Linked DNA regions of Homo sapiens: regions 1 and 2 are each linked to region 3. Evidence: promoter capture Hi-C in 16 types of primary human blood cells and fetal thymus (Javierre and others, 2016). All regions are on one chromosome and are shown on one strand. The core of a region is centred on a gene start or on the middle of the fragment in contact, and the rest is flanking DNA. Distances in the headings are between cores, read along the strand shown.

Region 1 (4,109 bases), core at 333-2,832, 490 kb before region 3:
CTCATGAAACTTATTCACTACCATGAGAACAGTTCGGGGGGAACTGCCCCCATCATTCAATTATCTTCCACTGGGTCCCTCTCACAACACATGGGAATCTGGGGAGCTATAATTCAAGATGAGACTTGGGTGAGGACACAGCCAAACCATATAGGGTAAATATTGCCAAAAAGTGATATAAGAAGAAAAAATAATTGGTAAGTGAATGACTCACTTGCCAAAGTGAAGATTTGAAAAATCTTCAAATTTAATAAAGAAATAGACTCACTGACATAAGCAGTCACTACATTTTGTTAATTACATTCAAGAAAACTAAGCACTATCATAAATTATCCTGATATAGTATTAGATATTTAAATTTGGATAGTGAATAGTATAAATGCTATAATTACAAATAAATCTTTTTCTAGAATATGTCTTTCAATTTCCAATACTGAATTTCCACTGATTATTTTACATTTTTAATGTTTAAATTAAATTTTAATTTTTATCAATATAAGATATGCATCCTTATAAAAGAGTCTATATATTTCATTATCTTGTAAATTTATATATGTATATATGTATATGCCAGAACTAACCCCATCCCTCCCCAAACTTGTTTCCTATTAAGAAACAGAATTAGCCAGGTACAATGGCTCATGCCTGTAATCCCAGCACTTTGGGAAGCTGAGGTAGAAGGAACACTTGAGCCCAGGAGTTCAAGATCACTGGGCCAACCAAATGTGACCCCCATGCCTGTGGTCTCAGCTACACAGGAGGCTGAGGCAGGAGGATCCTTTGAGGTAGGAGGATCCCTTGAGACCGCAGTGAGCCACATTCCTGCCACTGCATTCCAGCCTGGGTGACAGACTCTGTCTCAAAAAAGAAAAAAAAAAAAAAAGAAACAGAATTAACATTGAAGCAGTTAATTTTAGTGTTTGGCTACACATTACAAAATAATATGTTTTTGATGTTGTGATGTCTTCTTTTGAAAATCTTATATATTATCTTTTCACCTCGTTTTTAACTACCTTACATCAAACGAGACGTTCGAATATACCTTTAGCCCTTTTACTCAGTTTATATTGCTCCTTTTGTAAAATTAACATTATTATTGATCTATACAAGTGCTACCTATAATTGTACCATGTGGCATAATATGACTGTGTATGCTTTCTTGTGTTCTTTTTATCTTTCCCAGAATTAGTAATTCTCTAATTTACTCGGATAACCTTTTATCACTAAGGCATCTCAAAACTAGACAACAGTATGTAAGCTTCTTTCATATGTGATCAAACATATCTGGTATTGTATCAGTTTATTTAGTTATTTATTTTTTAAAGACATCTCTGCTAGAGCTGCAATTTATTTCCCGAATTCGATCAGATTTTTCTAGGCCTGCTGCCAGGCTTTCATGCTAAGACTCCCACTTGCCATTATTCTAGGAATTTGCTTTGTTTTTGTTCTATTCTAGATTCTATATTTCCTGGAGTTAATAGATTCTTATTTTTTAAGTCAACCTTATTGAAGGATAATTTATGTACCATAAGATATACCATTTTAAGTATGCAGTTATACGACTTTGACAAATGTGAGCACCTTTGTCCTTCTTTTTTCTTTTTAAACTCATGGTTCTGTTTTTTTATGTAAGGAAACACCCCTAAATTAAATGAGATATTAAATTTAAGTACCTGAAAACAAAAAATTATTTTTTCTCACATTTCATCAACTGATAAATATATAATCTTGTTTCATATGTGTTACAGTTTAAAAACATTTAATATATGTTGTTGATTCATTAACATCGAAGTCACTGCCAAAAGCACTATAACTTGACCGAATGAAGCATATCTAGCACAAGTATTTTCTCCCTAAGGCACATCACAGACTTCTCTTGCTTGGGAATACTTTATAGCAGTCGGTACAAAGCTTCAGTGCCATTTTAAACAGCACAATTACCAACAAAAAGTGCAAAAATGAGAAAAAACATGAGTAAATAGAACATGAAAAGGACATTTGTTTACAGTAGGAGAGCTGTAAGAAGTCGGAATATCGCCTTGTTCAATCCAGCTGGAAACATGCACATTTATTAGGCAACTCACATTTCTCTCTACTTTGTGCATTTCTATGAAAGACAAGAAAGCACAGCGAGTATTGGTTTGAAGTTGTAAATTAATTTTAGTGACTAGGCAAGTTTGCAAGTATGGAATTCATGAATAACAACAATAGAGTGTGTGTGTATATACACATATAGAATTCTTTAAAAGATTTGTATTCTTTGCTCTAATATTTTGAGATTTGAAGAGTCTATAACTTAGTATAAATCTTTTTTTAGGGTCCAATTATTCAAAATAACTCAGTGTTTTTTCTTTGGTTTTGTTTTGTAAAATTTTCTTGGTAATTTCCTCCTTTGCATTTCTCATTATCATTCTTAAACACTTACTAATAATCAATAAGTCCTCCTGTATTGATATTCTGATTATCTTTTCATTTCTTTCAGATTTCTCATTTTTTAGTTCTTTTCTCCTAATTTCCAGTAGAAGTATCAACTTTCTTTCCTAAAATACCAGTGGAAAATTTTATTTTACTACTTTTCTATTTCCAAAAGCTTTTTATTTTCTAGTTTTTAAAATGTTATAGCATCTTATTTCTATTTTATTGATGAGTATTGGACTTTATTTAGATGAGGATATACATTATAATTTCACTCAATATTTTGTTTGTGTTTTCTGCAATTGATTTTTGTGGGGTTTTTTGTTACTTTACTTTTGTCTCTTTTTTATAGAAGTTTTCTGTAACTTATGCATCAGGTGACTGATGATGACCTGTTGTTACATTTACAATGTAAAAATTAGTCATCAAAAGGTGTGCATGGTAGGAGTCTGTAGGCTGGTAGACCTTACCAGGGAGTAAGTGTGTGGAGATTTCATTGTTTCCTTAAGGGACTTCCAAATATCTGCCTTGATAGGCCTGTTATCTTGGGCTAATAAATTTCTCAGAGAGGAAAATTTTAGACTCCCCTTTTTCTATATAAGGTGGATGGAATTGAGAAGGGGTTAAAAAAGTTAACAGTAAGAGCATTTTTAAATTTGAATAGACTCCATCTCAAATATCAAATATTCATTTTTGAAATTGTTGATATATTTATTTTACTTGACAGATAAAATTATATATTTATCATGTACAACATATTTTAAAATATGTACATTTTGAAATGAATACATTGAGTTAATTAACATATGCATTGTCTCCCGCATTTTTAAATTTTTTGTGACGAGAACAATAAAAACCTACTCTTTAAGCAATTTTCATGAGTTCCATTGATTGGTATTAACTGTAGTCACCCTGTTGTGCAACAGAACCCATGAACTTATTTGTCCTATCTAAGTAAAATTTTGTATCCTTTGATCAATGTCTTCTCAAACTCATCCCATCACTCCCTCCCCAAGTCCCTGGAAACCATATCCCACTCTGCTTCTATTTGTTTGACTTTTTTGGATTCCACATATGAATGAGATCATGCAGTATTTCTCTTTCTTGCCTGGATTATTTCACTTAACATAATGTCATCGATTCAAACATGTTGTCACAAATGACAGAATTTCCTTTTTTTTAAGGCCTAAATATAGCATTTCATTGTGTATGTATACCACATTTTCTTTATGCATTCATCCATTGATGGACACTTAGATTGATTCTAAATCTTGGCTATTTTGCTATTGTGAATAATGCTGAAATAAACATGGGAGAGCAGATATCTCTTTGAGATGTTGTTTTCATTTCCTTTAGATATATATCCAGTAGTAGGATTGCTGGATCATATGGTAGTTCTATTTTTAACTTTTTGAGAAACCTCCACATTGTATTCCATGATGGCTATACTAATTTACAGTCTCAACAACGCTCTACAAGGAGGCACTTTTCTCCAAATCCTTGCCAACACTTATTATCTTCCATCTTTTTGATAATAGCCATTTTAACAGTTGTGAGATGATACCTCATTGTGGTTTTAATTTGCATTTCTCTGATAATTAGTGATGTTGAATTTTTTTTATATGCCCGTTGGCCATTGGTATTTCTTATTTTGAAAAATGTCTGTTCTCATTCTTTGTCCAGTTTTTTTTTTT
Region 2 (4,516 bases), core at 321-2,820, 380 kb before region 3:
CTTATCTTTGAAAGATGTACTCTGTGTGCAATGTCTAGAGATTATTTAGCAAGATGCCAATGTTGGCACCACTTAATGTGTTGATTGGTTGTATTATCAGTAGCTGTTTAAAATAAATTACTATTAAACTATTATTGTCCTTGGCTGACAAAACACAATATTTTGGTGTTATTTAAATGTGAAACAATCATTATGAATAAACATGTTGAATAATGTTAAACTGCAACTCTAATTTGTGTAATTTTATATTAATATTCGTTGTAAAGAATGAAGTTGCTGAGAGCATTTATGTTTACTGTTTCCTTTTGTTACAATTGCTGCTAATGTGACTAATGGTAATACATTACCTATTCCTGCTGATTATGTCTGAAAAATATTAGCTTTTAGGATCCAATACTCTCTGGGACTACTTATAAGCTATATAAAATTAAATGTAATTTTTAGACTTTGTATCAGTGCATATCAGTAGGAGTCCAGTGTGAACAAAAATCTGTACTAGAGCCAAACTGATGCATATGCAAAAGTATGTTACCGCCAGTGACAGCTCTGCTTCAAAAAATACAGAAAACGGATTAAATTTCAGTGCAGCAGGGGGCTGGGAAAAGCAATAGGATGTAGTGTTCAGAACATCTACAAATCTTTAGGACACCATTGTAGCCATCAATGATAATAATACTTTCAGATTTGTGTAACTTCTGTAAAATTTCCAGGTTGATCACGTGCAAACGGTCACGTTAAATGCTGCATCTCACTTGGACATGCAATATCCAGAAAATGCTGTGGCAAAAATGTGAATGACAAAAAACGATAGAAGGTTTAAAGCATGATTTTTTCTCCAAGGGGAGGATGGTTCTTAGGATACTGAAGTCGGTTAATGACAAGTCTAATGAAATACATTTTAAGTTTATGCCACAGCAATGGTGAGAGACAATAGTTGATTGACCCCAAATTTTTTTTCTGAGTGAGACATAATGGTTGTTATACTACATAAATGTCATTGTTTTCTAAAATAATCTAATTTGTAAATTATTTTCATCATTTTTTAGAGATTGAGTTTTTTTTTTAAAGGGTACTGTATCTAGCAATGTTTCTACAGTTGATACGGCTTAGAAAGTACAATATCTGTCTATATAAGAAGACTTCAAATAATACTGCTAAGAAACATTTCTTAATAACCTAGCTAGATCCTGGAGGAGAAGCTTACTTGATCCATGTTTGTATTTAACATAAATTTATTTCAGAATCAGACAATATCTAAGGTTTCTCGAGTGTCACTGAAACTCATGTGATAAAATTTGTTCTCAATAATGTGTTGCTTCTAATGAAATTAAAACACCTTAGTTGAAGAGGATTTTAGCAATCACCATCCTAACCAAATACTTTTAAAGATGAGAAAACCAAGATGCAGAAGAATCAAGAGACTGACTGAAAATCCCAAATACTGAGTTGAGTGTGCCTAGATCAGAACTGTCCAGCTACTTAGTCTTCTTTATTATTCTTTTAATGTTTCCCTGGTCTCTTTTCAGGGAGAAAAAGAATAATGTCCCTTGGAATCAGGAACTTTTGTAGACCAAAAAACAAACAAATAATCAATAGTACAGTATCAACTGACAGTTTTTTTTTTTTTTTTTTTTTTTGAGATGGAGTTTCGATCTTGTTGCCCAGGCTGGCGTGCAAATGGCGCGATCTCGGCTCACTGCAACCTCTGCTTCCCAGGTTCAAGCGATTCTCCTGCCTCAGCCTCCCAAGTAGCTGGGATTACAGGCATGTGCCACCATACCCGGCTTATTTTTTTGTATTTTTAGTAGAGACGGGGTTTTGTCATGTTGGCCAGGATGATTTCAAACCCCTTACCTCAGGCGATCCACCCACCTCAGCATCCCAAAGTGCTGGGATTACAGCGTGAGACATGGCGCCCGGCCCAACTGACACATTTTCAGAGAAGCTTTTGTAACAAAATATAATACCATACTCTTTAATGCTATGATTATTGTCCTGCAACGCCGATGTATGACAGGAACAAAGAAGAGAAGACTCATAATATATAATTACGATTGAAAATAAAAACATATAATGTAGGGCCAATATATTTGATATTAGCTTCCCCATATTTTGAATTCAACGTCTATTTTGTTGGGGTTTATGCAAAGTCTTCTCCTAATTAATATTATATATAATTATATATTATAATTAAATTATGTATCAATAATTAAATTATGATTAAATTTAATGTTACAGTTAAAATTATTATATTTATATAAAAATTAATATAATAAATAACAAATAATACCTTATAATAAATAATATATTAATATAATATAAATGAATACATAATAAAATTATAATTACAATAATTTTTATAATTATAATTTTATAATTAAATTATAATTAAAATTATATATTAATGTAAATAAGGAAACTATTATTTTATTTTAAAATATATTGAAAAGTAAAGTAAAATTATTGGCCATGATATTGAAATGTAAAGAACTGAAGATAGATAATCAGAGTACAGTCATTCACCTCCATAACAACTTTTTGGTCCGCAAGCATATATGATGGTGGTCCCATAAGATTATAATATCATATTTTTACTGTACCTTTTCTATGTTTAGACACACAAATACTTGCTATTGTGTTACAGTTGTCTACAGTATTCAATATAGTAATCTGCTATACAGGTACATAGCCTAGGAGCAATAGGGTATACTGTATAGACAGGTATATACTAGGCAATATCCTCTAGGTTTGTATAAGTGCATTCTATGATGTTTGCACAACTCTAAGACTGTCCAATGATTCATTTCTCAGAATGTATCCCCAGCATTAAGTGATGCATGACTATAGTTCAGTCTTATACTTAATTCTTTTTCATTTTCTTCCCACAAACACAGAAGTAGAGAATAATTCCTCCTAGATACCATGGTTGGATTATGTCCATTTACTAGGCTATAGTGAATCAATCTGGAGCTGCCATTTCTTGTGTGTGTATGTGTTTTTAAGATAGGGTCTCACTCAGTCACCCAGGGTGGAGTGCAGTGGTGCCATCATAGCTTACTGTAGCCTTGAACTCCTGGGATCAAACCATCCTCCTGCCTCATCCTCATGAATATTAATAGCTGGGACTGTGGGCATGCCCCATCATGCCCAGCTAATTTTTGTATTTTTGTAGAGGCAGGGTCTCCCTATGTTTCTCAGGCTGGTCTCAAACTCCTGGCCTCAAGTGGTCTTATTGCCTCAGCCTCCCAAAGTGCTGGGATTACAGGTATGAGTCACAGCACCCAGCCAAGCTGAAGCTATTGTGGTTTTAACATATGTTTTAGGTCTTTCTTGTTTGCTTAATTCTTCCATGTAGGTAGACTATAGTGAACCAAACTCCAATCATATATCCCCTCATGGCAAATATCTTCAATGCTAACCTCACTCCTAACTAAATTTTATATTCTCTACTTAAACTTTACATTTTCACTTTTTAGTTATTTAACTATTCTTATTTTAATGTTTGTAAGCCACTTTTTAAAGCCTTTTTGTAACAAGATAAACAAAGTAAATAATTTGTTCACAACCCTATGTGCCAAAAGGTTCTAGATTTTAAAAAGTGAGTAGGCCCGGGCGCGGTGGCTCACGCCTGTAACCCCAGCACTTTGGGAGGTGGGTAGATTAGTTAAGGTCAGGAGTTTGAGACAAGTCTGGCCAACATGGTGAAATGCATCTCTACTAAAATGCTTTTTAAAAATTGCCAGGTTTGGTGGTGGGAGGCTACTCCCAGCTACTCAGGAGGCTGAGGCAGGAGAATCACTTGAGAGGCGGAAGTTGCAGTGAGCCCAGATGGTGCCACTGCACTGCAGCCTGGGCGACAGAGGGAGACTCCGTCTTAAATTTAAAAAAAAAAAAAGAAAAAAGAGTAAGCAGAATTATCCTTTGATCATGTTCTAATGGTAGCTCATGTTTGACGGTGTCATATCCAGTTAACTGATACTAAAATTTTAGTCTCCTTACATAAAATCTCACAGGTTGTTCTCCATGGACAGGATTGAAAGAGGAAGCCATAATGAAAGATAGACCACAATGAAAAAAAAATGCCATATAGAAAAAATAAAAGCAATTCTAAAAATCAAAAACTGAACTGTATCCATATTCTTCACTAAATTAAATTAGTTTTTTACTCTAGATATCTGTATCCATTATCACTTTTAATTTCTAAAACACTCAAATGTCAGGAAGTAGTATAGCTCAAGCAGTAACAAAAATCTGGTGCCCAATTTTTTATATATATAAATTTTATAAATTTCTAAATATAAAATTTAAATATAATTTTTTATATATCAACATAGGATTTTTTTTACAGGTCTTTTTTTTTCTTTTTACTTCATTCATTATAACTTTTCTTTTCTTCTTTTTTTTTTTTTTTTTTTTTTTTTAGCTGGAGGGAGTCTTGTTCTGTCGCCAGGCTGGAGTGCAGTGGCGCAATCTTGGCTCTGCAACCTCTGCCTCCCGGGTTCAAGTGATTCTCCAG
Region 3 (4,115 bases), core at 203-2,702:
GGGGTCGGGCGCGGCTGGCGAGCCCCGAGCAGGGAGAGGAGAGGGCCGCGCTCGCCGGGGCGCGCGGCTCGCGGGCGCGCAGAGCGAGCGGCGCCGGGAAAGGAGCGAGGGCAGGCGAGCAGGCTGGTGGGAAGGGGCGCGGGCGGCGGGGGCTATCCCCCCCGACTCACCTTGCGTTGGTGCAGTCATTGTAGAGGGTCTCGAAGTCCTTCCTGGAGATGAGTTTGCAGCGGTTCACTCCTGGCTGGATGGCGCCCAGTCCCCTCAGGATGCGAACTTGTTCCACATTGCACACCACCGGCGTGATCTCCAGCCGCTTCAGCTTGGTGTAGACCGTATGCAAGCCCCCCACCAAGTGCTTCAGGAACAGGTCGAAAGCCTGGGGCAGGCAGATCAGCTCGCAGCCCTCCACCGTGAAGGAAGCCACTTTGGCCCCCCTCAGATCCACCATTTTGCACTCATTATTCTGAGGGGTGTTTTCCACTGGGGACGGGGTTGAGTACACGGGTTTCCCGGGGAGGGGGCCGCAGCTGCTGCTGCTACTGCTGCTGCTGCTACTACTGCTGCTGCTGCTGCTGCTGCTACTGCTGCTGCTGCTGCTGCCGGTGCTGGCGTTGATGGGGGTGCTGGAAGCGACGCCGCCGCCAGCGCTGATGCCGCCGCCGCCGCCGCCGCTGCCGTTGCTCGCGGCCGCCAGGTTGGGGTTGCAGTTGCTGCCACCGCCGCCGCCGCCACCGCCGCCTCCGTTGCCGCTGCTGCCGCCGCCGCCTCCGCTGCCGCCGCCGCCGCCGCCGCCGCCGGTAGAGGTGACTGTGGCCGCCGCCGCCGCCGCCGAAGCGATGGGCTCCGGGCGGAACAGAGTTGGCCCAGAGGACGCCGGGGGTCCGATGGAAGGAGCCGGAGACGAAGTCGCCGAAGAGGTGGAGGTGGTGGTGCCAGAGGAGGAAGCAGACGTGGAGATTGGGGGTTGAGGGGGGACCAGCTGGGTCGGAGGGATCAAAGCCGCCGGCACTGCCATGGTCACATATAAGGGGAAACAGACGGAGGAGAAGCGAGAGGAAAAGTTGCCACACACCCCCGGGAGGGGAAGGGGAAAAAAGGGGGGAGAAGGAGCGAGGGGGGCAACAACAACTCCGGGAGAGAACGAGAAGGAGAAAGGGAGAGAAGGGGGAGAAAAGGAGGTGAAGGTAATAAAGAGCGAGCGCAAGAGGGGCGAGCACGAGAGGCGCTCTGGAGAGGAACGCACAAAAGTGTCCCGCAAGTCGAAATGCGAGTCCTCTCCGGGGGCTGGGATCGAGGGCTGGTTTGGGGGTGGGGGTGGGGCGGGGAGGGTCGGCTGTTGTTGTGTGGGTCTCGCTCTAGCACAAAGTTAAGGATGAAGGTGAAAAGGAGGAGGTTTGAAGGACTTGGGCTCTCCCTGGCAAGTACATTGATCAAAGATTGAGAGGGGAATGACAGAGAGAAAATGAGCTGAAAAGTGCAGGCTGCCGGCTGGACGAGTTGTTGTTGTCACACGGTGCAGAGGGGAGGAGCTCCGGAAACTTGAAATACCCTTTGAAGCCGCAAAAACCTCACTCACTAGTATTAACCCAAATTATCCAACCAGGAACTCGGAGCAGAGACTCCGAGAGCGCGAGACACTGGAGAGGGAGCGTGCGAGGAAAGGAGGAGGGGAGGGGGAGGATACGGAAAGAAACTGTGGGAGGGACGGAGAGGAAAAGCCGGGGACACAGAAGTGGCGATCGGAAAAGGAGAGGGAGATCATCTACTTCTCTTCTACTACTACCGTTAGATTGCATGTCTCACATTCCATTTCGTCCGCGGGGACTGGTAATTTTTTCCAAAGCTTCTAAACAATCGCCCGCCAACTTAAAGAGGAGCCTGAGCGCGCCGAGCTCTCTCCTTCCAGGATTTAGGATCCATCTCCACGCGTTTTGGCAATGAGCTAGAAACGAAAACACAGCCCCCACTTCACGATTATTCAGAAATTATTTTGAGGAAAATTCACATGTAAGCAAAGCGTAATGTTCTTTTGCATCTGATTGTTTATTTCTCTACTAAATTATTTATTTATATAAAGATAGTGAAAATTCCAGGACAGTTTTCAAGTGGTGAGAAGAAAGTCAGTCCGAAATCGCTTAAGAATAATGGAAAGCTCTGTATTCAATTCCATATTTCCTAATAGGTTGTGGAAAGAAATGCTTGCCTTGATGTGGATGATTTAGAATAACTTCACTGTCTCCCCAAAAGCCAGTCAGAAATACCTGTTAAACCTAGAGCTATCAAGGAGATAAGGTATCCTTGAAGATTTAGAAAGTGGAAAAAGGGTTTTCTTACCCAAAACTCTATAATTAATTCACCTGTCTTACACAGTAACCAACTATCCTCATGTCCTTTAAGACCCAAAGCCAATTGCTAATGTGTTTTTTGGACAACACAATAGTTTTTTTTTTTTTTTTTTCATGTTTGAAAAGTGCTGCTGTAGTTTTGGAAAGTCCTTTTCAATTTGTCAGTAAATATATGTTTTGTAAATAATGGGAAGAACAAAAACAAAGCTCACTAGTTGACTTGTAAAGACTTGGGTAGCTGTGCTTAAAACAACATGAGGCTGAGTTTAGACTGACTCTATTCCTCCTTTCCTTCCTCTTTCCTTTTCTTTTCTTTTCTAACTTGTTGCACTGAAGTATTTATTCAAGGATTTTTGACTAACATATCATTTGAATATGGGTCAAATCTATTTGCTGCTCATGTCTCCAAGTATCTTCAATTAGTTAGCCTTTGAACCGGTCCACACATGTTCAGTAAGTTCATAAGATATGAAGCAATGCTTTAGCATTTGACAGATTTTTAAAATAAACTGTTAGTAGCAGGTTCACAGGGTTGGGAAATTTTATAATAAAATTTTTGCCATTCTGGTGTTGAAATGATCACATTTCTCTATATCATTTTAAGCCTTTGAACTCTGTGAATCGCAGTGTCAAATAGTGCAGGAACTGTCTACCGAAAAATAGAAATATGACACTATGGACTAATTAGTGTATGATTATACTAAAATTTTTGGGACATAGCAGTTAAATCAGGAGGCTTTCCTGGGAGATAAGAATTCAGAAAATCGATTGTTGCAGAAAAGTCCATGAACTTCTGCAAGGACAACTAAAGTTTAAACAGTTGTTTGGCCTGGTTAACCAATGTATTGTAATACATTCAGAAATAATTTTTATTTATGTTTCAGTCTTCAAATTTGTTATGGGTAAAAGTAGGAATTCAATATATATCACATACATCAAAACACTTCCTTAAGTATTTTTGCATGTTTTAGAAAATATTACTTTTTTAAGACATACCAAACTACTATTATAATGAGGGGAGGGGAGGAAGAAAGTATTAAGCCCTGAAAAGCTAATTTTATTTTCGAATTCTATGCCTAACTTTAATAAATTTTGATATGGTTTTAAAAGACTAAACTATAGTCTCATTATTTTAAGTTCTAGACCCACAAATGGAAGAATGGGAATTAAATGCCGAGCATCTGCCATTACCATTCTCATTTTTTACATTTCCTTAAACTATCACTCACCCAATACCTGACACATTCGGAAGCTACAGACAGGAGGTAATGATAGCAGCCCAAGCCATAATCCCACCTTGCTTCGAAGCAAACTCCAAATTTTCTACTGCAGGGAAACCTTTGCCTCCGAGCACGTGCTCCACTCAGAAGCAGGGCTGAGAGACATTTGCCCCCACCTGAATAAGAGCTCTCCAGCCTTCCTTCTCCTGACCTCAGGTCTCAAAATCAGTTCAGGGAACCACCACTTACCCCTTCAATCAAACAATAGGATTAGAAAAGGCATATAGCACAAATTAAAATATGTAGGAAATAAAAGCCTTGAAAATTTTGAAGGTTTTATCTCTTTTTTCTTTCCTTTTTTTTTCTTTTTCTTTCTTTCTTTTTGAGAAATGTTGCCAATGAGTAAGGCAAACAGTTATTTAACAACAACAGATAAATCAACTTAGAGATTTTGAATTCTCACTCCATTGCATCTTTAGCTTTTAGAGCTTTTGTCTTGCTTGTTTATTGTTTTACATCTCCGCTTGTTTCAGGTCCTCTCCATCTC

The links. The method cuts DNA at HindIII sites, captures the fragments that hold promoters and counts their contacts. A CHiCAGO score of 5 or more calls a contact.
Region 1: a fragment that was not itself captured here is called in contact with the fragment with the promoter of DACH1 in region 3 in 1 of 17 cell types (M0 macrophages); the score reaches 5.0 in M0 macrophages.
Region 2: a contact is called between a fragment that was not itself captured here and the fragment with the promoter of DACH1 in region 3, in 1 of 17 cell types (endothelial precursors). The highest score is 6.9, in endothelial precursors.

What each region holds. Positions count from the first base shown.
Region 1 is chr13:71,380,429-71,384,537 of GRCh38, forward strand. No RefSeq gene overlaps it. Among named protein-coding and RNA genes, the nearest start is that of LINC00348, 370 kb to the left of the region's middle. The HindIII fragment of the contact is 653 bases long and covers 1,257-1,909 here.
Region 2 is chr13:71,481,180-71,485,695 of GRCh38, forward strand. The region is part of intron 7 of DACH1 (dachshund family transcription factor 1); the gene reads right to left. Among named protein-coding and RNA genes, the nearest start is that of DACH1, 380 kb to the right of the region's middle. The HindIII fragment of the contact is 746 bases long and covers 1,198-1,943 here.
Region 3 is chr13:71,865,752-71,869,866 of GRCh38, forward strand. DACH1 (dachshund family transcription factor 1) reads right to left here and starts at 1,453. Exons shown (of 11, transcript NM_080759.6): 1 at 171-1,453. The coding sequence starts at 1,018. The HindIII fragment of the contact is 4,223 bases long and covers 1-1,844 here.